6 separate regions of the Homo sapiens genome follow, and all the other regions are linked to region 6. The links are contacts of gene promoters, found by promoter capture Hi-C in blood cells and fetal thymus (Javierre and others, 2016). All regions are on one chromosome and are shown on one strand. Each heading gives the region's core, a stretch centred on a gene start or on the middle of the fragment in contact. The rest is flanking DNA. Distances are from core to core; before and after follow the strand shown. Region 1 overlaps LIMD1 (LIM domain containing 1). Region 2 overlaps SACM1L (SAC1 like phosphatidylinositide phosphatase). Region 3 overlaps LIMD1 (LIM domain containing 1). Region 4 overlaps SACM1L (SAC1 like phosphatidylinositide phosphatase). Region 5 overlaps SACM1L (SAC1 like phosphatidylinositide phosphatase). Region 6 holds the start of LARS2-AS1 (LARS2 antisense RNA 1).

Region 1 (4,562 bases), core at 1,613-4,112, 140 kb before region 6:
GAATCACTTGAACCCGGGTGGCAGAGGTTGCAGTGAGCTGAGATTGCACCATTGTACTCCAGCCTGGGTGACAGAGTGAGACTATGTCTTAAAAAAAAAAAAAAAAATTGACTGATAAATGTGCAGACTCACAGAGAATCCACTCCAAAAAGACACTTCCTGTAGATGTAGTGAATGAATTTTTTCTTTTTTCTTTTTTTTTTTTTTTTTTTTTTGAGACAGGGTCTTACTCTGTCACCCAGGCTGGAGTGCAGTGGTGCAATCTCCTCCTGGGCTAGAGCAATCCTCCCACCTCAGCCTTGAGTAGCTGGGAACACACGTGGATGCCACCATGACTGGCTAATTTTTTGTGTGTATTTTTAGTAGAGACGGGGTTTCACCATGTTGCCCAGGCTGGTCTCAAACTCCGGGGTTCAAGCTATTCACCTGCCTCAGCCTCCCACAGTGCTGGGATTACAGGTGTGAGCCACCTGCAGGCCGTGAATGAGTATTTTATATTTGCCTTCAAGCCATCCTCAGTTTAAAAGAGAAAAATGCATCTGATAAAGCCGGTGTAGTTTAACAAAGGAAACAAGAGTTAAGGACATCACAAAGAGAGGTCAGCCATTTAATCTGACAAAACTAAAACGTGCAATAATACTCACCACTCTTCCTTCCCTATAAAATAGAAATAAGCTATAACCTATTCTGGAAACATAACTGGTCCTTGGCGGTAAGACTCCACCACAAATTTCAGTTCCAAAATATCTCCCTGAGAAGTAAAAATGCAAGGGTTTCCCAACAATGAGAAGAGTTTCCGAGAAAAGAAAGTAAAAATCAGTAGTCACTTGGATTGTTTTGATTGTACTGTCCCAGTTAGTGACTTCTACCTGTACTGTCCATGGTGGCTACTAGCCACATGTGGTTATTTATGTAAGTTTAAATCAATTAAGATAACATCAAAAATTTAGCGCCAGGGCTTGAACAAGTATATCTTGAGTACTTGATGGCCACTTGTGACTAGGGAAGCTTTAGAATATCTGCATCATCGCACAAAATTCTAACCAATCTACTTCTTCAAATAGCTTTTCTAGAATAGGTTCTTTTTTTTTTTTCTTTTTCTTTTTTTTTTTTTTTTTTTGAGACAGTCTTGCTCCGTCACTCAGGCTGGAGTGCAGTGGTGCAATCTTGGCTCACAGCAACCTCCGCCTTCTGGATTCAAGCCATCCTCCTGGCTCAGCCTCCTGAGTAGCTGGGACTACAGGCATGCACCATCACTCCCAGGTAATTTTTGTATTTTTAGTAGAGATGGGGTTTCACCATGTTGGCCAGGTTGGTCTTGAATTCCTGACCTCAGGTGATCTGGCTACCTCAGCCTCCCAAAGTGCTAGGATTAGAGGCATAGGCCACAACACCCAGCCCCAGAATAGGTTAACTCTTAAAAGATATTGCTAAAAACAAATCAATTTGGTTTGGCTCAAGTGAAGGAGAGATCCAGCCTCGATTTTGCAGGCTTGCCAAGCCTCAGTAAGCCAAGGAGCACAGCAGAAAGGGGCAAAGTGGAAAAGCACTCAGGCTTGGGGTCCAACCTTGCCTTTGCCCCTTCCCTGAAATGAGACCCTGGCTGTCACCCAAACCCTTCAGGTTCCCTGGTAAGGATAAAAGTGGGATCACAGTAGGGAACGCAGCCCAGTGCACCTCATACCAGGCATCTGGTGTGACTGTTGCCAGCATCCCTACCTGACCTTCCGTTTCCTCAAATGACACCCACCAGAGCTAAGAATCATAACCACCACCCTCTCTCCCTCCTCATCCAAATCCCCTACATCACTCCTTCCTTCTCAGTTTATCTGTGGCAAAGGGCTAGGTATGGGAGGCTTTTGTTTTTAATTTCCATCTGTCAGACTTATTATCTTGTAAAATACAATAATATAGAAAAATGAAACATAAAATCCAAGCCCCAACTGTAGTTATTATCCAATTCAACTGACACAAAGCCACTCTGTCAAACTCTTAGGAAGGTCTCTAAACGTTCTCATCTCTTTCTCGGCCTTTGCTGGTGCTGGCCAAGGACCATGTTCTGAGCACTGCTGCCTCACGCTCCAATTCTCTTCTCACGTGCCACTCCAAAGTCTTTGTCTTATAGTTAGTTTTCCATTTCCCCTATTCCAGGCTATTATCGTCTGGATCAGAGATGAGAATACTGCACACAGAGACAACCCAGAGATGTGCAGAGGGTCTCCGTTAAGTGTTCAGCAGAGCATGGATCAGCTCTTGCCTGTGAGGAAACTAACCAAAGTCAGAGGACAAACATCTGCAGGATTCGCAAGAACAGTGCCTGGCACCCACAAAAGCTGGAAACAGTGCCTATTCCCACCAGCCCTGAGAATGAGGAATAATAGAGCCCTAGACTGAGCTCTGCTTTGAATTCATCTAATAAATCATAAAAGCAAGACTAGAAAGAATCACTGTTCCTAAATAATTTAACAGCATCCCAGAACAATGCTCAGAAGATTGAAAGAATACAAAATATCCAAGACTCAAAAAGGTAAAGTTTACAATGTCTGGCAGCCAATCAAATATTCCCAGGCATGCAAAGAGGCAGGAAAGCACAACCCACAGGGAAGAGAATAATCAATCTATGGAAATCAACCCCGATCAGACACAGATATTAGAATTAGCAGAGAAGGACATTAAAAGCTATTGTTTCTATATTCAATATGTTGGAAATGTTAAGTAGCAACATGGAAAATATTTAAAAGGCTCAAACTGAGCTGCTAGAGATGAAAACCAAAATGTCTGAGATAAACAATACATTGGCTGGCCGGGCATGGTGGCTCTCACCTGTAATGCCAGCACTTAGGGAGGCCAAGGAAGGCGTATCACTTGAGGACAGGAGTTTGAGATCAGCCTGGCCAACATAGTAAAACTCCACCTCTACTAAAAATACAAAAATTAGCCAGGCATGGTGGCTCATGCCTGTAATCCCAGCTACTTAGGAGGCTGACCCGTGAGAATCGCTGGAACCTGGGAGGCGGAGGTTGCAGTGAGCCGAGATCACACCATTGCACTCCAGCCTGGGCAGCAGAGCAAGACTCTGTCTCAAAATAAATAACAGGCCGGGTGCGGTGGCTCACGCCTATAATCCTAGCACTTTGGGAGGCCGAGGCAGGTGGATCACCTGAGGTCAGGAGTTTGAGACCAGCCTGGCCAACGTGGCAAAACCCTGTCTCTACTAAAAATACAAAAATTAGCCAGGCATGTGGTGCATGCCTGTAATCCCAGCTACTTGGAAGGCTGAGGAAGGAGAATCGCTTGAACCCGGGAGGTGGAGGTTGCACTGAGCTGAGATCATGCCACTACACTCCAGCCTGCACAATGGGGGCAAGACTCCATCTTAAAAAAAAAAATAACCATCTGATCTTTGACAAACTTGACAAAAACAAGCAATGGAGAAAGGATTCCCTACTTAATGGTGCTGGGAAAACTGGCTAGCCATATGTAGAAAGCTGAAACTGGATCCCTTCCTTCCACCTTACACAAAAATTAACTCAAGATGGATTAAGGACTTAAATGTAAGACCAAAAACCATAAAAACCCTAGAATAAAATCTAGGCAGTACCATTCAGGACACACGCACAGGCAAGGACTTCATAACTAAAACACCAAAAGCAATGGCAACAAAAGCCAAAATAGACAAATGGGATCTAATTAAACTAAAGAGCTTCTGCACAGCAAAAGAAACTACCATCAGAGTGAACAGGCAACCTACAGAATGGGAGAAAATTTCTACAATCTACCCATCTGATAAAGGGCTAATATCCAGAATCTACAAAGGACTTAAACAAATTTACAAGAAAACAACAACCCCATCAAAAAGTGTGCAAAGGATATGAACAGACACTTCTCAAAAGAAGACATTTATGCAGCCAACAGACATATGAAAAAATGCTCATCATCACTGGTCATCAGAGAAATGCAAATCAAAACCACAATGAGATACCATCTCATGTCAGTTAGAATGGCGATTATTAAAAAGTCAGGAAACAACAGACGCTGGAGAGGATGTGGGAAACAGGAACGCTTTTACACTGTTGGTGGGAGTGTAAATTAGTTCAACCATTGTGGAAGACAGCGTGGCAATTCCTCAAGGATGTACAACTAGAAATACCATTTGACCCAGCCATCCCATTACTGGGCATATACCCAAAGGATTATAAATCATGCTGCTATAAAGACACACGCACACGTTATGTTTATTGCGGCACTATTCAAAATAGCAAAGACTTGGAACCAACCCAAATATCCATCAATAATAGGCTGGATAAAGAAAATGTGGAACATATACACCACGGAATACTATGCAGCCATAAAAAGGATGAGTTCATGTCCTTTTTGGGGACATGGATGAAGCTGGAAACCATCATTCTCAGCAAACTATCACAAGGACAGAAAACCAAATACCGCATGTTCTCACTCATAAGTGGGAGTTGAACAATCAGAACACGTGGACACAGGGAGGGGACATCACACACTGGGGCCTGTTGGGGGGGGTGGGGGGCTGGGGGAGGGATAGCATTAGG
Region 2 (4,569 bases), core at 978-3,477, 180 kb before region 6:
GTACAGAGTTTATTTTTGCAAGATGAAAACGGTTCTGGTGATGGATGGTGATAACGGTTGTACAACATGAATGTGCTTATTGCCCCTGAACTGTATACTTAAAAATGGTTGAGATGGTAAATTTAATGTTTTATTTTACCACAATTTTTAAAAATAATGAAACCACTATTTTGCATAGGAGCCACAGTGATATGTCATAAAACTGTAGCAAGAACATATTCCCTCAAAAATCTTACGTAAAGAATTTGGCTGGGTGCAGTGGCTCATGCCTGTAATCCCAACACTTTGGGAGGCCGAGGCAGGTGGATCACTTGAGGTCAGGAGATCAAGACCAGCCTGGCCAACATGGTGAAACTCTGTCTCTACTAACAATACAAAAATTAGCCGGGCCTGGTGGTGCATGCCTGTAGTCCCAGCTACAAGGGAGGCTGAGGCACAAGAATCACTTGAACCTGGGAGGTGGTGGTTGTGGTGAGCCGAGACTGCGCCACTGCACTCCAGCCTGGGCAACAGAGTGAGACCCCATCTCAAAAAAAAAAAAGAATTAAATCAAGGTCTTAATGATCAAATTTAATACATCTCTGGTTGAAAAGACAGAGGCACAACACTTTACTAGGTTTGGTGAGCAAAAAGAAAACAACTTAGTAAAGAAGGATCCCCTGCACATACTACACTCATAGGCAGAAGGTGCTCCTACCTCCCCCATTCATCCTCCCTTTGGGTATCTCCTCACTGAGCCCTCCCTGGTTGCCTCTCCTATAGCTCAAGTTCATCACAGACTCCCCAGGGGCACAACCCAATTCCAAACCAGTTGGTGTTTCTAGAAAGACTCATTCTAATGCTATCCTCTTTCTCAAAACTCTGTGTTCCCACCTATATCCTATTCCCTGAATGCCCTAAAACCCATTCTCTCAACCAGACTTCTTCACAGGACTAGGTCCAAATTCCACCTAATCTGAAGCTCTAATCCACAGCACAATCTACCAGAGCCCCATATCTTCCAAAGAATTCTCTTCTACCAGCATGTTCTGGTCCTAACTCAGCTATGTATGCCCAGCCCTAAAATATTTCAGAGTGCATAAAAACTACCAGGATAGCTAGTTAAACTTGCAGATTTCCACCGCTCATCCCCAGAGATTTTCACTCAGTAGGCCTAATGTGGGGCCCTGGAATACGCACTTAAAACAAGCATACCAAGTCATTTGATGTAGCCTAGCACTAACCTAGGCTAGCCACGTGAGCCTAGGTAAGCCTGAACTAGCCTGAACTCCCAGCCAACTAATGCTTTGGATACAAACCCCATATTGTCTGTGCTAAAACTCATGAGAATAATCTGAGCTGCCCTACACCCTTCCCTCCACCGGGAGACTTCTGTGAATAATATGAATGTTCATTATATTGAACAGATTATATGTGTCTGTATCACAAGGTAGCTTAGGTTACATCTGTTTTCAAGGTTGGATCATATCTGCCCTGACTGATGACCTCACAGTTATGAGACTCTTTTAAAAATGGCAATTTCCTGAGGAAACAGTACTCTTCAGAGGCATGCTGCAGCCTGATGCAGTAACTAAAGGATTCCCTGCCTTACACCTAGTTTCAACTGACCTTTTAAAAGAAAAAGAAAAAAAAAGAAGAAAAAATGCTTTAAATGTATCCAATAATTTTGCACCTCTAACTTTCCACTGAACCTTTTAGAAAGTTATTATGAGCTTGAGGTCTGAGGGGCCTAAGAAGTGCCCAAACCACATTTGATGTCATTTCCCTGCAAAGGAAATGTGACACCTACGCCGAACTGCCAAGGTATTTTAGCTTATATACAGGGATAGATAAGCTTCTTAAAAATTACATTTCCAGTCTAATTATTTTGCAATTTCAAATTTATCACTGTCTGACATTATCCATGCCTATACAAATGGCTTAAAAAGAAAAATGGAGCCTAACAGGATATTTAGAACTGCCTGGAAGTTTAAAAAGTATGAATTTTAAATTCTGAGCAAATCAATATTCTGTTTTCCACATTAAACATATGGAAATTAATATGGACATGTCAACTATATTTGGTTGTAAGTGACTCATTTCAATACCTGGCATGTCTGAGGACTAATGCGAGAGCAATCTGGTAAGAGAAAAAAAGGTCATATGGATAATGCAATGAAATGGAAAGATCACTGGACTCTGGACCAGCCGTATTCCAAGGCTAGCTCTACCATGGCTTGGCTGTATGATCTGACTTTGTGGCCAAGGGCAATTATGAGACTGTTTTCAACAATGACAGGATACCTATCAACCTATGACCTCACAGAGACACTGGGAAGACAATATACATGAAATGACTTTTAAGCTGTGTTTCTTCAAAACGATACATTCCAAATTACCCTAGACTGTGTTCTTTTTGCAGTGCTAGTACGTGGTCTATACTGGAAAGTTCCTTTCATTTACTCAGTTGATTCACTGAGGAGCTGCTCTGCACAAGGCTCTATGTTAGGTACTGAGGAGGACTAGAGAAGAAAATGTTAAGGTGTAAACTGGTTGGAGAAACAAAGTACAGCCATGTGCCATGTAACAATGCTTTGGTCAACGACAGACTACACATATGATGGTGGTCCTATAAGCTTATAATACCGTATATTTACTGTACCTTTTCTTGTTTATGTATGTATACATACACAAATCTTTACCATTGTGTTGCAACTGCCTACAGTATTCAGTACAGTAACCTGCTGTACAGGTTTGTAGCCTAGGAACAACTGGCTATTCCATATAGCCTAGGTGTGTAGTAGGCTGTACCATCTAGGTTTGTGTAATTATACTCTGATGTTTGTACAAAGAAGTTGCCTAACATATTTCTAACATATTTCTCAGAATGTATCTCTGTCAGTAAGAGTCACATAACGGTGTACATAATGATTTCATTTCTAAGTGACAAAATGAGTGGTTCAAACAGTACTATGGATTGACCATTCTAGCTTTCCATCCTCTTGTCCATGAGAAAGTAAATGCACTGTAAACTGATCCTAAGAGACAGAATACATAAATCATGTAAACATTTGGTGTCTAACCCTGTTACAATAATTTTTCATTTTTGGCTTTAAAAACTGTTACCAGAACTCAGTGAAGGAAAAGACATGGAAAGAAAACATTTCTCAAAGAAGGTACCTATGAGGTACACTAAGTACTTCATCTAAACTCTCTTTGGGCCAGGCATGGTGGCTCATGCCAGTAATTCCAGCACTTTGGGAGGCCAGGGTGCATGGATCACTTAAGACGAGGAGTTCAAGTTTCAGCAACATGGCGAAACTGAAAAACAGAAAAAATCAGCCAGACATGGTGATGTGCACCTGTAGTCCCAGATGCTTTGGGGGCTGAGGTGAGAGGATCACTTGAGCCTGGGAGGCTGAGGCTGCAGTGAGCTGAGCTCACACCACTGCACTCCAGCCTGGGTGACAAGTGAGACCCTGTCTCACAAAAATAATAAAAAAAAAAAAAAACTCTCTTTCAAACCTTACAATAATCCTGTGAAGTATCAACATTCCCATTTTACAGACTGAAACACCAATTCAGAAGGATTAAGTACTATGCCCAGGACACAAAACAAGTAGTCAAGTTAAGATATGAATCCATATCCATTCTGACTAACAAAACCTGAGATCTCTTGGCTCTACCATGGATGTGACCAGTATGTAAAGAGAACAGAGAGGAAGAAGGCATTCTGGGTAGAAGGATCAAAATAACACCCAAGTTTGAAGCTAGAAGGGGATGAGCCAAGTTTTGCAGAAGTGGGGAAAAGGCTCTGGGCAGTTACGGGAAATAAATTAGGCGACAGATTATAAAAAGGCTAGAATATACAGATGGCTAAGAAATGCAAGTTTGATCCTATAGGTCAGTAAGATGGAACTGGAAATTGTAAGCAGGAAAGTAGAGGATAAAACCAGAGCATTAGAAAGGTGAAATTCAACAAGGCAGAGATGGGCTGGAGAAAAAGCATGGCATAATGCAGACAGAATTATTATTTAAAATCCGAAGTAGGACAGGTGTGGTGGTGTGCATCTGTAGTCCTAGCTCCTCGAGAGGCTGAGGTGGGAGGCTCGCTTGAGACTAGGAGTTAGAGGCTGCAGTGAGCTATGATCAAACCACTGTACTCCAGCCTGGGCAACAGAATGAGACCCCATCTCTTTAAAGACAAAACGAAACAAAAGAAAAAAAAAACAAGCATTTCAACATTTAAATAAATCCTTTTAGCAATCCTTTTGTAATAAAATAATCGAACTATCTCTTTTGCATGGATATTTCTTAAAACACATCTCCAGACACATTTTAAAAAATGGCTACTATCTCCTACCAATTCTTACACAGAAACCAATTTCACTTCTAAATGCATCCAAAAAAGAATACTCCTTAGGGCAGGAGCCACATTTGAAAACCTTCAACAGCAGCCTCAGAGCAGGAAGGGCCAAAAGGAAGGAATAAAAATGGAAACTCTAACTCATAAACCCCTTGGTAAAGAAAAAGGTGCAAAAAAGTTGTACCTTCACATTTACAGAAACACTCTAAACTTTTTTTTCAGGG
Region 3 (4,807 bases), core at 2,015-4,514, 160 kb before region 6:
AAGAGGGTTTTGGGGGTAACAAGTAGGTGGCCTTGGGAGGAGAAGGTAAATCAGGAGTACTTACTGGAAGAAGAATACATTTAAGCTGATGAGAGGGGAAGTAGGAGGGATAGGAGTCCTTCCTTCTAGAATGTCAGAGTTAACACTGAAAGAAAGACCTACATGGACACTTATTTTAAAAAATGAAGAAAAGACAAGCCTTTCTCCTCATCTGCTAATCTAAGAATTAGTATCAAGTAAGGGAGTTTGACCTGGTTATGGGGACAAATCAGCACAAGAAGGGTACTGGGTTGGGGAAGCCAGTCAACAAGGAAGGGTGAAGACACGACTTATCTCAAAGGTGAAGTGGGGTTTTTTTTGGTTTTTTTTTTTTGGAGACAAGGTCTTGCTGTCACCTGCTGGAATGCAGTAGCACCATCATAGCTCGCTGCAGCCTCAAACTCTTGGGCTCAAGCAGCTAGGACTACAGGCACATGCCACCACACTTGGCCAATTTTTAACAATTTTTTGTAGAGATGAGGTCTTGCTATGTTGCCCAGGCTGTTCTTAAACTCCAGGCCTCAAGCAATTTTCCTGCCTGGGCCTCCTAAAAGGGGTGGGATTACAGGCGTGAGCCACTGCACCAGGCCAGAGTTGAGATTTTTAAAAGGATACCTTAAAAGCTGTAAGGACAGGACATGGATCTTGTAAATGAGCCCAGGGAGATATTCATGTCTTAGAAGCCCCTGGGAGCATGTCTGGAAGGGCATCTTACCTCAGGTGGAAGGATGGGAAGCCCACAGGCTGCACACTTGGGGGCCAGCACCCTGTGGGGAGAAACAAAGCAGCAATAAATGTTGCTTCTGGGAGCAAATTCCAGAGTCAGACTTGCACTTGGAATCCACATGGAGCCTTCCTCCATGCCGCCTCCTGCCCCTTGCTCTCCTCCCTCATAGAATGACTGGTACCTGGCTCACTTTGTGGAATATGCCTTAGTATTTGCTCCCCAGCTGCAATGAGGACACTGGCTGCCTCTCACTCTTCTGGGGACAGCACTAACTGATTTGTTTACACCTCTCATGGTGCCTAGCACAGGCCCAGGCAAACCAAGAGTGGTAGGAACCAGCACTGCATAGGGGCCTTGTGAAGTTAGGTAACGCTGAAGCCACAGGGCTTGGTGGATTCCTCCCGAGGCCTAGCTACAAATATGATTATTAGTTTTTCTGTGCTCTGTTGTTTTTTTTTTTTCACTAAACATGATTCTTTAACCCATTCCTGTCAACACTGGCATCGACCAACCTCCCAAGGTCCCTGCTGTACCCCTCAAAACCATTAAGCCTTTGCTGGACTGTGATCTAAGGGCGGCTGGCAAACACAGTTTTGTCGGTTTCCACCACTCACTCTGCTGAGATCAGCTTGGCCTACACGAATGGGTCCTGTCTGCTCCCATCCCTTCTTACTTGTGGTAATCTCGGACACAGTAGATCTTGTTCTCTGAGTCCACGGTGAAGGGCACCCCATCCAAACACTCATTACAGATGACACAGCGGAAACAGCCGGGGTGGTAGGACTTCCCCAGGGCTTGCAGGATCTGGAGCAGAGACCAAGACTCAGTGGGGATTATAGGGAAGGATGAGATGGTGGAAGGGGAGAGGAACACATCAGGCCTAAGGATTACATGAGCAGTCACACACAGAGTACACTTACCCCCGAGTTTCACCTAGGAGAAGAGCAAGAGGTGATGGGGTGGGAAAGGCAAATCTGTTTAGATGAATACACAGAAGAGACCACACAGGAATCCTTCTCCTGCAGCCTCTCACAGGGTCTCTGAGCTGGCAGGGAAAGAGGGCTCCTTTCCAACCCTCACCCAGAACAGGAAACTCTTGCATAGTTCTTTAAGAGAAAGAGATGGTAAGGAAGGGATGGGCCAATCCCAGGGCCAAAATCCACCACGAAGAAGTGGGAAACGATGCAAAGCAGGGCCACAGAAGGATACATCCTTCCCAGATTTGGGAAGCAGCAAGTACTCGGAAAAATGAAAAGAAATTCCATGTGGAAATGGCAGAGCTCAAAAGGAACCCCTTCACTTCTGCCTCTTGGATGCCCCTTCTATGCAGCTTTGACTCTGGAGCATGATAATCTAGAAGTTCTGACTCAACCCAATGACCTCAAATCCAAGTGTAATAAGTAAAGTTTCTCTGTTGTTGTTTTTAAACGCAATAGAGGGAAAGCCCCACAAACTTCTTCCTCTCAGTGTCATTTAATCTGGATCTGGATGGGATACCTGGAACTGCCAGAGCCAACCTGAAACCAGGACAGACCCAAGACATGGACAGCAGGAAAGAGAAGAGATGGAAAGAACATCCTTGGTGAGGTCCGTAAGTAACTGAATTAACTCATCATGGAACCACATACCTCCAAGCCTCTTTTTAGGTGAGATAAAATATCATTCCTATGAAGTCAGTGGTCCTCGAAATGTGTGTGGCCCCAGACCTTCAGCATTAGCATCACCTGCAAACTTGTTAATAATGCACATTCTTGGACCCCATCCCAGATTTCTTGAATCAGAAACTCTGGGGGTAAGGCCCAGCAGTTGGTATTTTAATAGGGTGATTCTGATATATATTAAAGTTGGAGGATCATTGGTTTAACTCGAACTGAGTCTGGGTTTTTTCTATAATTTGCAGTTGAAAGCATCTTCACTGACTTAATAGGAGATTCATTTCTGCAATTACCTGCATCATGAAACTTAGCAAAAACAACTGAACTACAGAATCAACATGAGCAAGGTCACACCAAAACATGCATCTGCAAAGAATGTACAGAACGGTCATCAGCATCCAGCAGTGGGAGCCCACACAGAAAGCCTTCAAACAGGCTGAAGAAAGGGGATTTTGGATTTGGGGAAGCCTTGTCAGTACACTGTGAGACCCAGGGGTAAAGATATGCTGTGTTACAGCTCCTTCCCCTGGAAGCCTCAGGCGGATAACTCCACACTGCACAAGCTCCAGCCAAGAAGGCAAGAGGAGGGCGTTGTGCTATTCCAGCTTTCCTCTGAATGCTCAGCTTTCAAGCTTCCTCATTCCCTCTTGGGTTTCCCTAACCTTTGAGGGCCCTCTCAATCTGCAGTAAGGCAAAACAGGAAGAACAACTGGCTGGGCTTCCAAAACCCATTTGGCAATTTGGACCTTGGAATGCATTTTCCCCAAGATGAATGCTGTCTTGGCAGAAAGAGATCCTTAAATTAATTTAATCCACATTGTGCCTAAAGTAAGATTAGAAAAAGATGCCATTTTGCTGCATTGTGACTAGCTGTAATACTTTTTTTATGTGAGACTATGCCTGGTTCTAACCTGCAAGCCCAGAATGTACCCCTCTATTAACAAAAGGGTATATAGAGAGACAATTTACACAAAGAGTTAGACAGCTGGGGTTCTGTCTAGACATTCACTAAAAGTTTTCAAGTCCTAGGGAAGACCTGAAAGACTGAAGCTTCAACTTCATACTATCCCATATGGTAGAGATCTCACATCAAGAGATGGGGACTATTTCCCCCTCCCCTTGAATCAGAACTGGCTTTGTGACTTTCTTTAATTAACAGAAAGCAGAAGAAACAATGTTCTGAGATTTCTGAGTCAAAGGCTTAAGAAGACTGGTAGCTTCCACTTCCTATCTCTTGCTGTAAGGAAGTCTGAACTAGACTACTGAATGATTAGAGGCTACAGGGAGAGGGGCCTGGAGGGTGAGAGGTCATCTTGGATGTTCCAGTTCAACTGTGCTACCAGCTGAACAAAGTTAAGTAGGAGACCCCAGCCAATGCCACACAGAGCAGAAGAATTGGCCTGCTAAACCCTGACCTAAATCCTGACCCACAGCATGAAGCATGATGATAAATAAGAAATCACTATTGTTTTAAACTACAAAGTTTTAGGGTGGTTTGTCATGCAGCAATAGATAAATGACATACCCTGAGGTTATCCAAAGAAGTCTTAGGATTACTAGAACTAAGAATAGGGTATAATCATACTCATAAATTCAGAGCATGTTGACTTCATATGAAGTAGGTTTGTCAGAAGGACACTAAAAACAAAGGCAAATTCTGCTAAAGAAATAGAGCCCTACAGAGTCTAGAAGATACCTGGGAAGGAGAGGTAAGCATATGTAGCTTCTGCCTACCTCCCACTGCGAGCATGGGGGAAGGGCCACGTTTCCCAGGGAGGTCTTGGCTACTAATGAGGACATGGCTCTAATAGGGCTAAGACCTCTGCTGAGGTCTGTCAAAGCCTGGGAGATAGCAGATATTCATCACGAATGGGGAGGGCTGTGGGTCACTGATGTTTTATAAATATTAGCATATAACCAGCAGAAATGAGTGTTTATGTCCATCAAAGACATGTTCAAGAGTATTCACAGCAGCTTCATGCATAAATAGCAAAAAACTAGAAACCACCAAATCCCCATCAACATGAGATGGAGAAATAAATTGTGCTATATCCATACAATGGAATTCCACTTAGCAATACAAATCAATAAACTACCAATACAGGTAACAGCATGGATGAAGCTCAAAAACATATGTAATAAGACCTGAAAGAGTCTATACTATATGTTTCTATTTATATGAAGTTCCAAAACCAGCAAAATGAATTTCTGGCAATAGAAGTTGGAATAATGGTTGCCTTTGTGGGAGTGGGGTCTTGAGTGGGAATAGACAAGAAGGAACTTTCTGGAGTTTGGGAAGTGTTCTATATCTTGATCTGGGTGGTGGTTACAGGGGTATATGCACATGTGAAAACTCGTTCAGATGTACACTTAAGATTAGTATCTT
Region 4 (4,951 bases), core at 432-2,931, 200 kb before region 6:
TAAAATTGCCTAGAAAAAAAGGTTCTATAATCTCACTTAATATTGTTTGTCCATTCACAATCTCATTTTGAAAAAAAAACAAAAAACAAAAAACACCATAGTTGGCCCAAATCATTTAAGGCACTAAATAAGGATAAACACTTTTTTTTTTTTTTTGAGATGGAGTCTTGCTGTGTCATCCAGGCTGGAGTGCAGTGGCACGATCTCGGCTCACTGCAACCTCCGTCTCCTGGGTTCAAGCAATATTCCTTCCTCAGTCTCCCGAGTAGCTGGCATTACAGGTGTGAGCCACCACGCCCAGCTAATTTTTGTATTTTCAGTAGAGACAGGGTTTCACCATGTTGTCCAGACTGGTCTCGAACTCCTGACCTCATGATCTGCCGGCCTTGGCCTCCCAAAGTGCTGGGATTACAGGCATGAGCCACTGCACCCGGCTGAATAAACACATTTATTCTTATTTTATCCTTAGGAGAACTTGGAAAGCTCGGGGTGGGGAAACAAAAATAAATGAGCTTTTATCATGAAATTTTCTAATTTTTATTTCCCCATAACTGTGGAACATGTTTCCTCCATTACTTTTTGGGTTTTCTTTAAGTATAACAAGCATTAAGTTTAGTGAAATTATATTAACATACTGAATAAATAAATAATAGACTTGTATTGATAAGCTTCTTACATGTGCTTGATAGATGTCATCACCGTTTTCTTCAGGGCACAATCCTGATTACAGTCATGCATCACTTAATAGGGGTACATTCTGAGAAATGCATCGTTAGGCAATTCTATACATTATAGAGTGTACTTACACAAACCTAGATGGCACAGCCTACTACACACCTAGGCTACACGGTATAGCCCATCGCTCCTTAGCTACAAACCTGTATAGCATGTTACTGTACTAAATACTGTAGGCAACTGTAACACAATGGTATTTGTGTATCTCAACATATCTAAACATAGAAAAGATACAGTAGAAATATGGTATTATAATCTTATAGGACCACCTTCATATATGTGGTCTGTCACCGACTGAAATGTCAGTATGTGGCACATAACTGGATAGGCACTCATGAGCATATTGTGCTTATATATCCTTTAAGAGCCAGCTCACTTGGCTGCTTTATTTTTATTATGATGTCTATGACATAGATCTGTTTTTAACATGAACCTACAATTAGATAATCATTACTCATTTTGTATCTGTACTCTGATTTCTCCCTTAGGCAATATTCTTTGTACTCTACTTATTTTCATTTATCTGTCACTATTTCAAATGACAAAATTTTTAATGGTAATTCTCCTCTCCAACTTGTTACCCACACTAGTGTCTGAGTCTCACTTTTTTTGACCCTGTCACCCAGGCTGGAGTGCAGTGGTGCCATCACAGCTCACTGCAGCCTCAAACTCCTGGGCTCAAGTCATCCTCCCACCTCAGCCTCCTGAGTAACTGGGACTAGAGGTGCAAGCCACCATGCCCGGCCTAAGTCTAACTTTTTAAATTATGTACTTAGGAAAGTTTTCAACAGCCAGGTCCAAACTACTTATGTGTAATTTACTGATAAAAGGTAACATCAAATAAAGGCAAAATACAGTACACATATTCCTTTTCTTTAAACAACCAACCCCAGAACTCTTGAACAGAGAGAGAATCGTATAGTCTGAAAAGTTCATTCTAAAAAAAAAAAAAACAAACAAAATAGCAATGAGTTTGATTTTCTTATCAACAGCAATTTATATTAATTCTGAAATACTCTCCTTATGGAGTATTTGAGACTATCTCTAAATCTGCCTTATAATAAAATTTAAATAAAGGCATCTAGAAACTAAAGAGTAATATCATGTAAGGATACAGCCATGTAACACTGGAAGGGCAAACCGATGAACCTGAAATGAAGATATATATTTAGAATAAATATACTTTAAAAATAAATAAGCATTATATAAAAATATTTACACATAGGGAGGTAATATACAAACATAACAAGGTAGTAAACTTATGGGTAATATAATTTTTAAAAGATTTCTCTAATGTAACATTAAGTATGCATTACAATCATTTGAGCTTGAATATTCACAGATTTTGGAACACTAATAAAGCTACATGAAGTTACAGAATGTTTACCTCCTTTTCAGTCTTTGCCTACAACAACTTCACTCCTCCAGGGAAAAGATATCCCATGCTAATTGTTTGCAGCTCAAACTACTTTTCCAAAAAAAGCATAGCAAATGACAAGAAATAAAGCAATTAGACACATCTATTTACCTAGATTCAATAATATATCATGTTTCCCTAGCTGGGCCTCCCTGTTTATACCTCATATGTGTAGACAAAGGACAGAAGAGGGCGGTGCCTGTGCATGTCTCTCCTGGGTGACTGAAGGGAGTCTCATCCCCAAAGGAAGACAAAAAAGAGCTCTCCCCTTGGCCAGGAAACTTGGCCCTGGCCCCTCATTTCTCCATTATCCATGTACCAAGATCCCCTGTATCTCTCTTAGTTAGACAAAGCAATGTATTTTTATTTAAGGCTTCTATAGAAGATCAGAGTAAAATAGTTAGGCTTCTTCAACCTAGAATGATGTGACAGGGTAGACCTGATCCAAGTTTGTAAGTTATAAACAGTTAAATTAGAATTGTTTCTCGAAATTCTTGGTGATTAGGAAGTCACTTTATAGCATGCATTGAATTAAAGCTTGGACTGTAACAATTAAGCAGATTTTATTTCGTGTACATTACCTCTGGCTGTGCAGAAAGTTCTCTTAGAAGATGACCATTCCATACAAACCGCTGATCTGCCTGAGAGAAGTTTTAAAATTTAATAAAATATCTCCTGCCAAGCTTACTTTCTACAGAAAGAAAACTACACCAATCAATGTCTCTTTCTGATGGCTAGAAGCCAGTTTCTTTGACAGGCCTCAAACAAAATACATCTCCCCCGCAAATCTGTACCTCCTGTGGGCATTTCTGTCTCATTGTCTCAGGCCAGACAGAAACCTGGGAGGAGTTTTACGGTATTTCTTTCCCTTACATTTAATTGTCAAGTACTAAATCTCCTTCAAAATCCATATTTTTTACATTTCTACTCCCACTATCTTTACCAACATCTGACTCCAGCCTAACTAACACACCTTCCCTTGCCTCCAGTTTAGGCATTAGCCCTCGCCACTCATTTTTCCACAATGCTACCAGCAGGAGTTCTCTAACATGTCCTGTCTCCTATCTGCTCAAAATTCTTCAATGACTCTGTCATCTAAAGAACCAAATCTCTGCATGGCCTAATCAGTCCTAGGATCTGGCAGCCCCTAATTAACTCTCTGATCTCATCTCTGGCCACTCCAACTTTCATAAATACAGAAGAGGCTCCCTCAACAATCTATATTTAATCAACTCTACTTAGGGCCAGACGTGGTGGCTCATGCCTATAATCCCAGCACTTTGAGAGGCCAAGGCAGGCGGATCACTTGAGACTTAGGAGTTCGAGACCAGCCTGGCCGACATGTCTCTACTAAAGATGCAAAAATTAGTCAGACGTGGTAGCACGTGTCTGTAGTCCCAGTTACTTGGGGAGGCTAAGGCACAAGAATCACTGGAACCTGGGAGGTGGAGGCTGCAATGAGCCAAGATCGTGCCACTGCACTCCAGGATAGGTGACAGAGCAAGACTCTGTCTCAAAAAAGAAAAAACAAACAAAATAACTGACTCTACTCAGTAGATTAATCAATTCTATTTATGAAGCATACCAACTGAACCACCAGCACCGCCGACTCTAAAAGTCACAGGGAATGGCTTTTGCACTTGACCACAACCAGCTGAATCGCACTTCCTGAGATTCAAGTGTGTGTTCCTGAATTTGTACCAGTCATACTTATTATTATTTCATCATTATATAGTTTAACTATTTTATAAACCAATGAAATAAGATGAAAAACACACTGCTGTTTCTATAAAGTTAAATGATTTGGAATGTAACTTGATAAGAGGCAAGTTGCTAAAACAAAACTGCTGTTGAATTTGGAGTGGGAGTGGCAACTAAAAAAATATAAAAGAACATAGTAAAAATGTACAGGATTCTGCACACAGATTTCTCTGTAAGTGTCAAAGTCTTTAAAGTGGCCCAAATGGGAAAGCCCTATGGATGTAATTTACACAGGGAAGACAATTCAGAATCAAGGAACCAAAAACAAAGAAAATCCTATGGCCGTACATAAAAACATTGACCAATGTAAAACTTTTAGGTTTTAAGTTAAAATATTTAGGGTATATATGTTCCATTTATCACTTTTATGATTCCCTATGTTAACATTAACTTTTTTTTTTTAGACCGTCTTGCTGTTGCCTTGGCTGGAGTGCAGTGGCGTGATGACAGCACACTGTGGCTTCTATCTCAAGTGAACCTCCCACCTCAGCCTCCCGAGTAGCTGGGATTGCAGGTGCGTGCCGCCACACCTGATTAATTTTTAAATTTTTTTGTAGAGCTGTGGTCTCCCTATGTTGCCCAGGCTGGTCCTGAACTCATGGACTCAAGCAATCCTTCTGCCTCGGCCACCTAAAGTGTTGGGATTACAGGCATGAACCACTACACTTGGCTAACTTTCTGTTTAGCTGACAAAACATTCCCATCTCATCCCAACAGATGAGATGGCTTTTTCTGCAGCTTAGCCTCTGCCACCACCTCTGCCTGGAACCCCCCGGCCCACTGTCACCTGACCAACAAATCTTCATCAAGTCTCAGCTCAAAAGTTACCTTTCTGTGTAAAGTTACTGTCCTCTGTAGATACCTTACTTTATAAAGTTGTCCCTGACAACCTCAGGCAAAGACCCTCATTCCTTCAGGATCCCACCTCACTTTGGTACATATCACCATTATAGCAACCATTCTTTGACTACCACTTCCCCAGCAGACTGTAGGCTCCCACAAGACAGGGTCCACAGCTTCATTCTGGGTCCCCAGGGG
Region 5 (4,519 bases), core at 469-2,968, 220 kb before region 6:
CAACCACAGTTACCAGTTCCCATGTTTTCTTTAACAAGCTCCTTGATAATTCTATGAATTCAAAAATCTGACAACACACAGTGTGGTGGTTAAGAATATGGATGCAGGAAGCAAACTATCTGTTTGCTAGCCTTAGCATCATACGCAACTTACTAACTCTAGAACTTTAAATAGTAAGCTTTTTCATCCACAAAATGGAGGTAACAGCAGCACCACCATTAGGCTTCTCTAAGGTTTGAATGAGATAACACATAATGCACATAAAGTACTTAGCACAGTGTATGGAACACAGCAAACAACGAATACTGGATAATGTTAACTATTGAAACTATTCTCCAAAATCCAAAAGGAGGAAGAAAATGCAACAGATTCATCAAGGGCTAAATACAAATCATGACCTCAGGAACAAAAGCGTGGAAGAATGTGTTAGGATGAAAAATCTACATATGGATCATGCAGAATTGGTAAGGTTCGTTTAGAGTTGGTGTACATATATATGTGTGTGCAAGGGTGTGTGTGTCCGTACCCCATGAATACTTATAAAATCCTAGATATGTTATAAACATTATCGCTTAAACTATACAGTAAGTTATCATCTTCACTTTACAAATGAAGAAACCGAAGTCTGAAGATAACTAAGTGGCCCTGGGTCATATTACTACTAAGAGAAAAACTTAAATTCAAACCAAGGTGTGTTGGATCCCAAAGCCCAGATTCTTCCCACTACCCCCAAAACCCTTAGAAAAAAGTCTCGAGAGATCATCTGAAAGTCACCAGTGAAAGCTCTGCTCTCCCTGTGGACCACAGTGAACAGCAACGAACACAAACTCTGGAGTCAACTCTCCTTCTTTCTTACACTCTTGTACGGCAGCAGTTAATGGGTGAACCCAAGGAACTACCTCCTCCAACAACATGCCAGGGCCAGCCAATGTTTTCTCTAATTGCCCAACAACAGGAGGTCAATTTCCCTTCTGTGTTCATGGCAAAACGTCACAGAAAAAAAGCAGATTTAAATAACTGTAGTTGATTACCTAATGTATATAAAAAGATATTTTTGAAAACTGAGCAAATGTCTATCCAAGAGGTTTTACTATATTATTGTGTAACAAATTAAAAAGTGCATTTGGATTGCCAGGTTTAGAACCATCACACACAGGCAGAAGAAAATGGTAGTACGATTTACAGATTCCTTCTTCTGGCTTTAAAATCGGTAAAGACTGGCACGCATAGAGTATGGTAAACCTGAACCAATATGATAATATAGTACTGCAAAGACATTCAGACCCTTTGATCCATTAATCCTACTCTGAAGAATTTTTTTAAAGAAATAAATTTAACAGATGTAAAATATATATAATGATTCATGGCACCACAATCTTTCATGATAGAAAGAGGAAAGGAAATAAACCAGGTGCTCAGGGTGAAGAAAAGCACTTTCTTAGAACTATGTTATGATAAAACAGAATATAGAAAAGCCATTAAACACTATCATTACAGACGCTGTACAGGTTAACAACAAAATACTTGTGATAGAATGTCTAGTGGAAACGACAATACAAAATAGTAGTAAACCAAGTTCAATTATACAAAAATTTGTAAATGTATGGTAGATAATTTATAAAAATATGAAGATATCTGGCCTTGGGTCATTTTTAAGAATTCAAAAATATTTTGAAGTCACCAAGTCTCATCTTTCCAGTAAAGAAATTAAAAATAATAAAATAGTACAGACAAGCAATGACAATCCAGTGAACTGTACTTGTAAGTCTGCTGGATGACGCATAATAAAATATGACTGATATATATACCTCTTCCCTCTACCTCCTTAAGGAAATAATATAGCTTACCTTAATTCATCTTGCATTTCTGCTACCTGATCCAATAAAATACTTAGTCGATCCCATCTCATATTTTTACATTCCTTATGGAAGTCAAAGGCAATGTATCTACCAAAAGAAAAGATATTCAGAAACCGACCAGAGATCATTCATTTTCCTTCTATTAATAATACCTTCATAAGCTGATTTTCCTCTTTATATCAGTGCATACATATTTCTTGGGAACACTAGAACCTCCTTCACTCTGGGTTTATCACTATACATATACTACATGCACACACACACCCCTTCTCATGCTCATACCTAGCAGAGGAAAAAATATATATATGATATGTGCAGATATAAACATGAAAATATATGCATATATATCTATCCTCACAGGTTCTTCTGGGGCCCTCAGGAGGAGTAGAGGAGAAACACAACAAATGGTAGTGAAGTAAGCTCAAGTACAGCAATCAGGTATGCACTGCAAAGAGGCCTAGTCCAAATTCCTTAAGGCAATTCTAGTGGCAAAGTATTATCTATGGAAACTCTCTGGAGCACAAAGCCTCAATGAGGGAATTTTAATCAGAGACTAAACTCAAAACTTGACTGAAAAGAAGTTATTCTGCAACATAAATTATGCTAGAGAAATTTCAAGCCAACAAAATATCATGCTTTGATCTACTATTGAAAAAAATGCAAGCTGAAACATATGTCTAGTGAGCTCTATGTAATCATGCATATATGTAAGTGCACATCTGATCTGAAAAGACCTGCAACAGATTTCTAGTGAGGTACCTCATCATTCCACTTCCCAAGGAAGACACCATTGTTGCAAATGTCTGCTCAAGTGGCTTCTCCGAGCCCTTCTGGTTAATCTGTAAAAAATTTCAAACACCATAGTTTCCAGTTTATTTCAAAGGAGAGAATGGTATCAGAAAAAGGACAAACTAGGAAGCTCTAAGCTCTCATCATTCTCCCACAGAAACATCAAAAAAACCCAGAAGCTGTCTGAGCCAACTTTGTAGGAGCTCTGAAAAACGATTAAAGGTTTTATAGTAACCCACCCAAGCACCCAATAAAGTAAAAGTCACTTTCAAAATGGTGGGAAAGTTTTGTGGCATTTAACTTGTCCTTGACCCAGCCCCTCCTCAGAGTGGTGACAACCTTAGTCTTACAAGGGAATAACCGGGTTCTCAGTTCCCCTCATCAAACTAGAGGAGGCAGACCAGACCTTATTTGCATATAATTGTGTACATCTGTTGTAACATGAAGGACTAACTCATCTCTGTCCCACGTATCTCTGAACACGGGCAGTAAAAATGGTGACCACTGTTTGTAAAAGCTACAAGAGGAACATAAACCAATGGATGCCTGAGGCAAAAAATTCTGGATGGAGACATACAATAGACCATCTAAAGGCTGGAGAAGAAGCTTGGTGATATTCTTAGGAAATTAGGACTTTCAAAAGCAGCCATGTATATGAAGGAGTTTTGAAGGCCACCCACATAACCAGGCAAGATGCATGCTGAAAAGAGTCCTGAGAAGACCTTAAACCTTTACCACAGACTGATCCCTAGGCTCACAGCAAGCCTGGCTACTCAGCAAAGGACTGCCCCAGCATACAGCAAGTCTGCAAAGAATGGGGGACAGGGTTGTTCTCTCATTTTTGCTTTCTTTTTTTGTTAGTTTGTCTATTTCAGTTCTTGGAATTCAATGAAACCTGTCAAAACAGCTGAATAGAAGCAAAAGGAACAGACCTCAGTGAACATACACAATAAGAAAGTTTTGGCAAAAATAGTTTGGAAAAGTCTCAAAAAAAAAAAAAATGGATTAGCAGAGTCTTTAACAATCAAATAAAACAAAAAAAACCCCAGCAAACCGTAGGGGAAAAGGAGACTCTGACTTCCAGAGTTATGATATTATAATAATCAAACATATAATTAAAAAAAAAATCACAGGTACAAAAATAAACAGAAAAACATGACTCATTCAATGGAACATAAGAAATTGACAGAAACTGTTCCTGTGGAAGCCAAGACAGGACTTGGCTTATTAGACAAAGACTAGACTTATTAGACAAAGACTTTAAAGCAACTGTCTTAAAAACACTCAAAGAGCTAAGGGGAAACACAGACAAACAACTAAAAGAAATCAGGAAAACAATACATAAACAAAATGAGGATATCAACAAAGATAGAAAAATTATTATAAGAAGCCAAAAAATAATTCTGGAGCAAAAGAGTACAAAAAGTGAAATAAAATATTTAGCACTATGGGAATTCCAGGAAGAGAGAGAGAAAGGCAGAGACAGATTATTTGAAGAAAAAAAAAATAGCCAAAACCTTCCCAAATGTGATGAAACATATGAATCTACAAACCCAAGCTCTGAACTCTAAGGAGACCCACACCAAAAACATTATAATCACATAGCTGAAAGACAAAAACGGAATCCTGAAAAGCAGCAAGAGAGAGGAGACTCATCACACACAAGAGATTCTCAATGGGATTATCCGCCAATTTCTCATTAGAAATCTTGGAGGCTGAAGACAGTGGGATCATATATTTTAAATGCTGGAAGAAGAAAAAACTGTCAACCAAGGATTCTGTATCTGGCAAAACGTCCTTTAAAAATGAAGGAAAAATTAAGACATTCCTAGATAAACAAAACCTGAGGTAGTTCATTATCATTAAACCCA
Region 6 (4,462 bases), core at 1,411-3,910:
CAAACATCACCAGTACATGGCTTTGGTTGCTCAAGGTAAATTTTTAAAGGTGTTTTTAGGGCAAAAGTTAGGAGAGAATGATCTGGATTCAAAGATAAAGATAGGTAGGATGATCAAAATCAGCAGCATTGGCCAGGCGCGGTGGCTCACGCTTGTAATCCTAGCGCTTTGGGAGGCCGAGGCAGGTGGATTGCCTGAGCTCAAAGTTTGAGACTGGCCTGGGCAACATGGTGAAACCCCGTCTCTACTAAAATACAAAAAGTTGGCCAGGTGTGGGGGCGCGCACCTGTAGTCCCCGCTGCTTGGGAGGCTGAGGCAGGGGTTGCTTGAGCCCAGGAAGCGGAGGTTGCAGTGGGCCGAGATCACGCCACTGCACCCCAGCCTGGGAGACAGAGCGAGACTCTGTCTCCAAAAAAAAAAAAAAAAAAAAAAATCAGCAGCATTAAGCCTCAAGAAGGGGCTGGGAATCCAAGGAATCCTATTCTTAGGTCTTGTATTTTATCAAGTGGCACAACACTGCCACCTTCCGAGAACGGACAGAATTGCAACCTGCGAAAAACTGACTAACCCCAGCTGTTCAGCCTAAGGCTGCAACTTTTGCCTCGTCTTTTATAACTTTTTTTTTTTTAAGGTAAACTGTTGAGGTATAGCACACATATTGAAAAGTGTAAGTCCTAGCGGTATAATGATGAATCTTCACAATATAAAACACACTTGTGTAACTGGCATTCAGCCCAATTAGCAGAACGTGAAATCAACCTTCCATCCGCTTCTAGGCACTGTCTCCTCACTATGGGCCCCTATAGCCTGACTGCTAACACTATTATTTCATCTGCCTGTTTCTAACCCGCTTGTAGCCATTTCTTAGTGAGAGCTCTCAGGGGATGTCCACATGGGAGGCTTTCCCCAGAACTGGCAGGCAGGTCCTCAGCAGTGCACCCACACCAAGACCTGCTAGTTACATGAATATATCCTAATGTCTGAAAGCTTCCAACAATGAAACTTGACAGTTGAAGCTCTTCTGGACTGTCTTCTCTGAGGGTTGCAGTGCAGCAGGGGCCATCTCAGATGGATCATCTAGAGCAGGGATGGCAAAACCTAGCCAACTATCCCCAGTGCCCTTGCCTACAACCACCCAGACACCATTCATCGACAGCAGCACTCCTGGTGCTCAGAACGAGTCTCTGAATTCTTCTTCGTACCATATAATCAGAAAGCACAGAGTTATTATGTGAAATGTATCACTTATTTCTTTGGTATTTCTTGAGTGCTTGCTATGTGCCTGGCACTGAGCTAGGCACTGGGGATATAATGTTGGGCAAAGCAATCTCTGCCCTTGGGGAGCCAGCCTGTTTACGATCACTGAACCAAACCAATGCCTGACAACTCTCAGAGCTGTGAGGGAGGAAAAGAAAGAGTGCAGTCATATTTGAAGAGCTCCTCCTCCCAATCAAGTCCAAATTCCTCCGCATAGCCATCCAGGACTTCTCCCTGTCCCCTGCCACTCCCTCTGCTCTTTCAAATGTTGCCTGCATGTGCTTCCACGTCTTTACTCACGCCATTTCCCAAACTGTTATCAAAACTCTAGTCCTCCTTCCTGGCTCAACTCAAATGCCATCTCCACTGAGAAGGTATCTCCTGGTCAGAATTAGAATTAGTTGTTTTTTCCTTCCTGATGCATCCTGTGTAGTGCCTGTAATTGTATCTAGCAGCTATTACATTTTATTGTGTATTTAGGTAAGCTGCTTGCCTGTCTTTCTCCTGTGAGGAGTAGGAGGATGATTTTTTTTTGAGACAGGGTCTTGTTCTGTCACCCAGGCTGGGGTGCAGTGGCACAATCACAGCTCACTGCAGCCTCAGTCTCCTGGGCTCAAGTGATATTCCCACCTTACCCCTGCAAGCAGCTGGGACCACAGGCGCGCACTACCACACCCAGCTAATTTTTTGTATTTTTGGTAGAGATGAAGTCTCACTATGTTGCCCAGGCTGGTCTTGAACTCCTGAGCTCAAGCAATCCTCCTGCCTCGGCCTCCCAAAATGCTGGGATTACAGGCATGAGCCACTGCTCCTGGCCTTGAAAATCCTTAAAGGCCACTCTCAGTCTCCAGTTCCTAACAGATGCTCAGTAATGTTAATTGCCTTGAACTCAATCAAGCTTGTTTCAGTGGATGAATAAACCTACCAGCAGCAGGGGTGGGGGATAATGTGAGTAGGACAAAGTGGAGGCAAGAGAGGAGGGAAGAAAGAAATGAGTGAAGTGGGGCACTGGATGCTATACTTTCCAGCTAGTGCCACCATCTTTTTGCAGGGAGGGGTGCATTGAAAGATCCCAAGCAGCTGAAGCAAGAGAATGAGAGCAGGGGAATGCCCCGATGAGTGCTCACATGGAATTTCCCAGTGGGGAAAGGGGCGCTTCCCAGCTCCTAGAATCCTGCTCATTCCCAAGTGTTTTCCCTCCACTTTTCCAGGGAGCCAGGGAATGGGCTATAGGGAGTTGGGAATCTGGTTTTCACTCTTGGCTGAAGCTGGCCATGTCTACTCTCATGCGTAGTTTAGCTCTGAATGAGTCACACTTGTTTATTCATTCAACATGTATTTACATGATAATTGGGTACACAGCACTAGGCAATTAATTGGAGAGCTTACAATAAGAACAGGCAGCCCAGGACATGCTCATAAATAACCATCAGCACTACAAGAAAGACGTACCAAATGTGATTTGGAGGCGCAAGGTGCACAGGAATGAAGGACAAAGGACATCAAGGGCCCTGCTGGACTTGGAACCCAGGCCTGCTGGAGCAGAGATCACATCACATTGCCAAGTTCATTATTCAGATTCACAATTGGGGTAATGTGTTTCCCTTTTGTTCACTCATTCATTCACTCAACAGATGGTACTTGGGAACAGACTTGCGTATGCAACTGAGTTATTCATTCATCATAGTGACTGTGCACAGCAGGGGCCTTTATAAGTGAGTGGAAAATCTGCAACTCTAAACCACTAACAAACCGTTCTGACTCAGGGACCATCAAACGCGGGAGTATTAGGCAGGGCCTCTGCCTTGAAGAAGGCCCTGGATTTCTGAGTCAGCTTTCTTCCTACTCCTTCGGTACATCCCTGGAGGTAGATCATGCTTGCTTGCACTGAAGCACAGCTATATGTAAGCACAGTGATGAAAACTGGGGGGAGATCTTCACAATTTCTTCATTAGTTTAGACTGCACTAACTCAGAAATTGCAACAACTGATAGCTGCTGGGCATTGAAGGCCACATTTGTCCCACTTGGAAGAAGGAAAGAAGGAAGGGAGGGAGGCAGGGAAAGAGGGGAGGAAAGGTAGGGAGGGAGGAGAGGGAGGAAGGGAGGGAAGGAAGGGAGTTGCTAATTATTAGGATAAACAAGGAAATTCAGAACATTGATTGATTGGCCATGTTAAGTGCTCTTAAAAAAATCACTATATACAAGGAATGTGCTAATTACAGTATGAGCAAAGAATATCAGGATGTATCAGAGCCCCACCTTCTTGCTGCAGATGACATTTACCTATTCATGAAGCCCCAGAGAGCCTGCTGCCCACTCCCCTGACCTGGTGCGAGAGTGGCCTGCCAGGCTGCAGATCTTTGAAGGCCATAGATCTCTGAAAATGGTCTCCAAATTGGACTTTTCATTAAATCAGACTAAGTTTACCTTCCTCTTCTTCCTTGTTCTGTGCCCAGGGCCATCATGTCACATAATTAGCCTAGTTTCTAAGTATTAGCCATGGCTCATTCTTGAAATATCACCATTCCCATTTCCTAGCAGCCAGTTAGTGGCGCAGAAGGAGGGTTTACTAATACAGCAGGACCCAAGTAAAGCTTCTCTTCCCTTCCTGTTCCTTTTCCCAGTAGCCCCGTTTCTGGCATGATCAGAGTAACAGAGAAGAAAGCTCTGTGGATAGGGGCTTGCTGTGCTCTCCACGGTCAGCAGGCGGCCTGCCCTTCTCATGGGAGCTCCCTGAGCAGCTGCTTGCTTCTGACAGCCACCACTTTCTGTTGATTCCAAACTGAAGGGAGAAATTCAGTTTGGGGAATTTAGTGTCTAAGTTGCATTACAGAGCTACAACAAAAAGTGACAAGATTCCATGTTTACAGCGGTCTCCCACAAAGGGAGAGAAAAGGCTTCCTGATCTCATTCAGTGAAGATGGGCCATGACATGTTCCCACGCTCTAATGTGCCCCCTCTCTTTCAACCTGGTGCTAACCACCGGAAGGAGGGAAGCTGAAAGCTGATCCTACCCCACACCCACAACCACAGCAGGAGGCTCAGCATATTTTCCTTCTTTGGAATATATACCATACTGTAAATGATAAAGTTACACAATCATTGTAAAAAATCTGGAAAAAATCAGAAGTATATTGGGCTCACCACCCAGAGATAGCTAGTGTTAACATGTTGGCATGAGTTTTTCAAGTCTTTTCTCTTGC

Evidence for each region. Contacts are between HindIII fragments. The CHiCAGO score rates a contact against its expected background, and 5 or more counts as called.
Region 1: a contact is called between a fragment that was not itself captured here and the fragment with the promoter of LARS2-AS1 in region 6, in 11 of 17 cell types (total B cells, megakaryocytes, naive B cells and 8 more). The highest score is 11.0, in total B cells.
Region 2: a fragment that was not itself captured here is called in contact with the fragment with the promoter of LARS2-AS1 in region 6 in 7 of 17 cell types (endothelial precursors, monocytes, M0 macrophages and 4 more); the score reaches 9.8 in endothelial precursors.
Region 3: a contact is called between a fragment that was not itself captured here and the fragment with the promoter of LARS2-AS1 in region 6, in 9 of 17 cell types (M0 macrophages, M2 macrophages, monocytes and 6 more). The highest score is 15.8, in M0 macrophages.
Region 4: a fragment that was not itself captured here is called in contact with the fragment with the promoter of LARS2-AS1 in region 6 in 4 of 17 cell types (naive B cells, megakaryocytes, M2 macrophages and 1 more); the score reaches 5.7 in naive B cells.
Region 5: a contact is called between a fragment that was not itself captured here and the fragment with the promoter of LARS2-AS1 in region 6, in 5 of 17 cell types (M1 macrophages, naive B cells, megakaryocytes and 2 more). The highest score is 6.6, in M1 macrophages.

Annotation. Positions count from the first base shown.
Region 1 is chr3:45,650,466-45,655,027 of GRCh38, reverse strand. All of the region lies in intron 2 of LIMD1 (LIM domain containing 1), which reads right to left. Among named protein-coding and RNA genes, the nearest start is that of LIMD1-AS1, 36 kb to the left of the region's middle. The HindIII fragment of the contact is 3,703 bases long and covers 1,011-4,562 here.
Region 2 is chr3:45,691,239-45,695,807 of GRCh38, reverse strand. All of the region lies in intron 1 of SACM1L (SAC1 like phosphatidylinositide phosphatase), which reads right to left. Among named protein-coding and RNA genes, the nearest start is that of SACM1L, 4.1 kb to the right of the region's middle. RefSeq lists an enhancer at 1,524-1,663. The HindIII fragment of the contact is 781 bases long and covers 1,837-2,617 here.
Region 3 is chr3:45,669,453-45,674,259 of GRCh38, reverse strand. It overlaps LIMD1 (LIM domain containing 1), which reads right to left. Exons shown (of 8, transcript NM_014240.3): 5 at 1,440-1,570; 6 at 755-806. Among named protein-coding and RNA genes, the nearest start is that of LIMD1-AS1, 17 kb to the left of the region's middle. The HindIII fragment of the contact is 418 bases long and covers 3,056-3,473 here.
Region 4 is chr3:45,710,979-45,715,929 of GRCh38, reverse strand. It overlaps SACM1L (SAC1 like phosphatidylinositide phosphatase), which reads right to left. Exons shown (of 20, transcript NM_014016.5): 6 at 2,734-2,793; 7 at 1,851-1,884. Among named protein-coding and RNA genes, the nearest start is that of SACM1L, 24 kb to the right of the region's middle. The HindIII fragment of the contact is 2,021 bases long and covers 671-2,691 here.
Region 5 is chr3:45,729,480-45,733,998 of GRCh38, reverse strand. It overlaps SACM1L (SAC1 like phosphatidylinositide phosphatase), which reads right to left. Exons shown (of 20, transcript NM_014016.5): 12 at 2,619-2,698; 13 at 1,848-1,946. Among named protein-coding and RNA genes, the nearest start is that of SACM1L, 42 kb to the right of the region's middle. The HindIII fragment of the contact is 3,076 bases long and covers 181-3,256 here.
Region 6 is chr3:45,507,743-45,512,204 of GRCh38, reverse strand. LARS2-AS1 (LARS2 antisense RNA 1) reads left to right here and starts at 2,660. Exons shown (of 4, transcript NR_048543.1): 1 at 2,660-2,848. The region is part of intron 15 of LARS2 (leucyl-tRNA synthetase 2, mitochondrial); the gene reads right to left. RefSeq lists a silencer at 2,294-2,588 and an enhancer at 3,415-4,281. The HindIII fragment of the contact is 1,698 bases long and covers 2,158-3,855 here.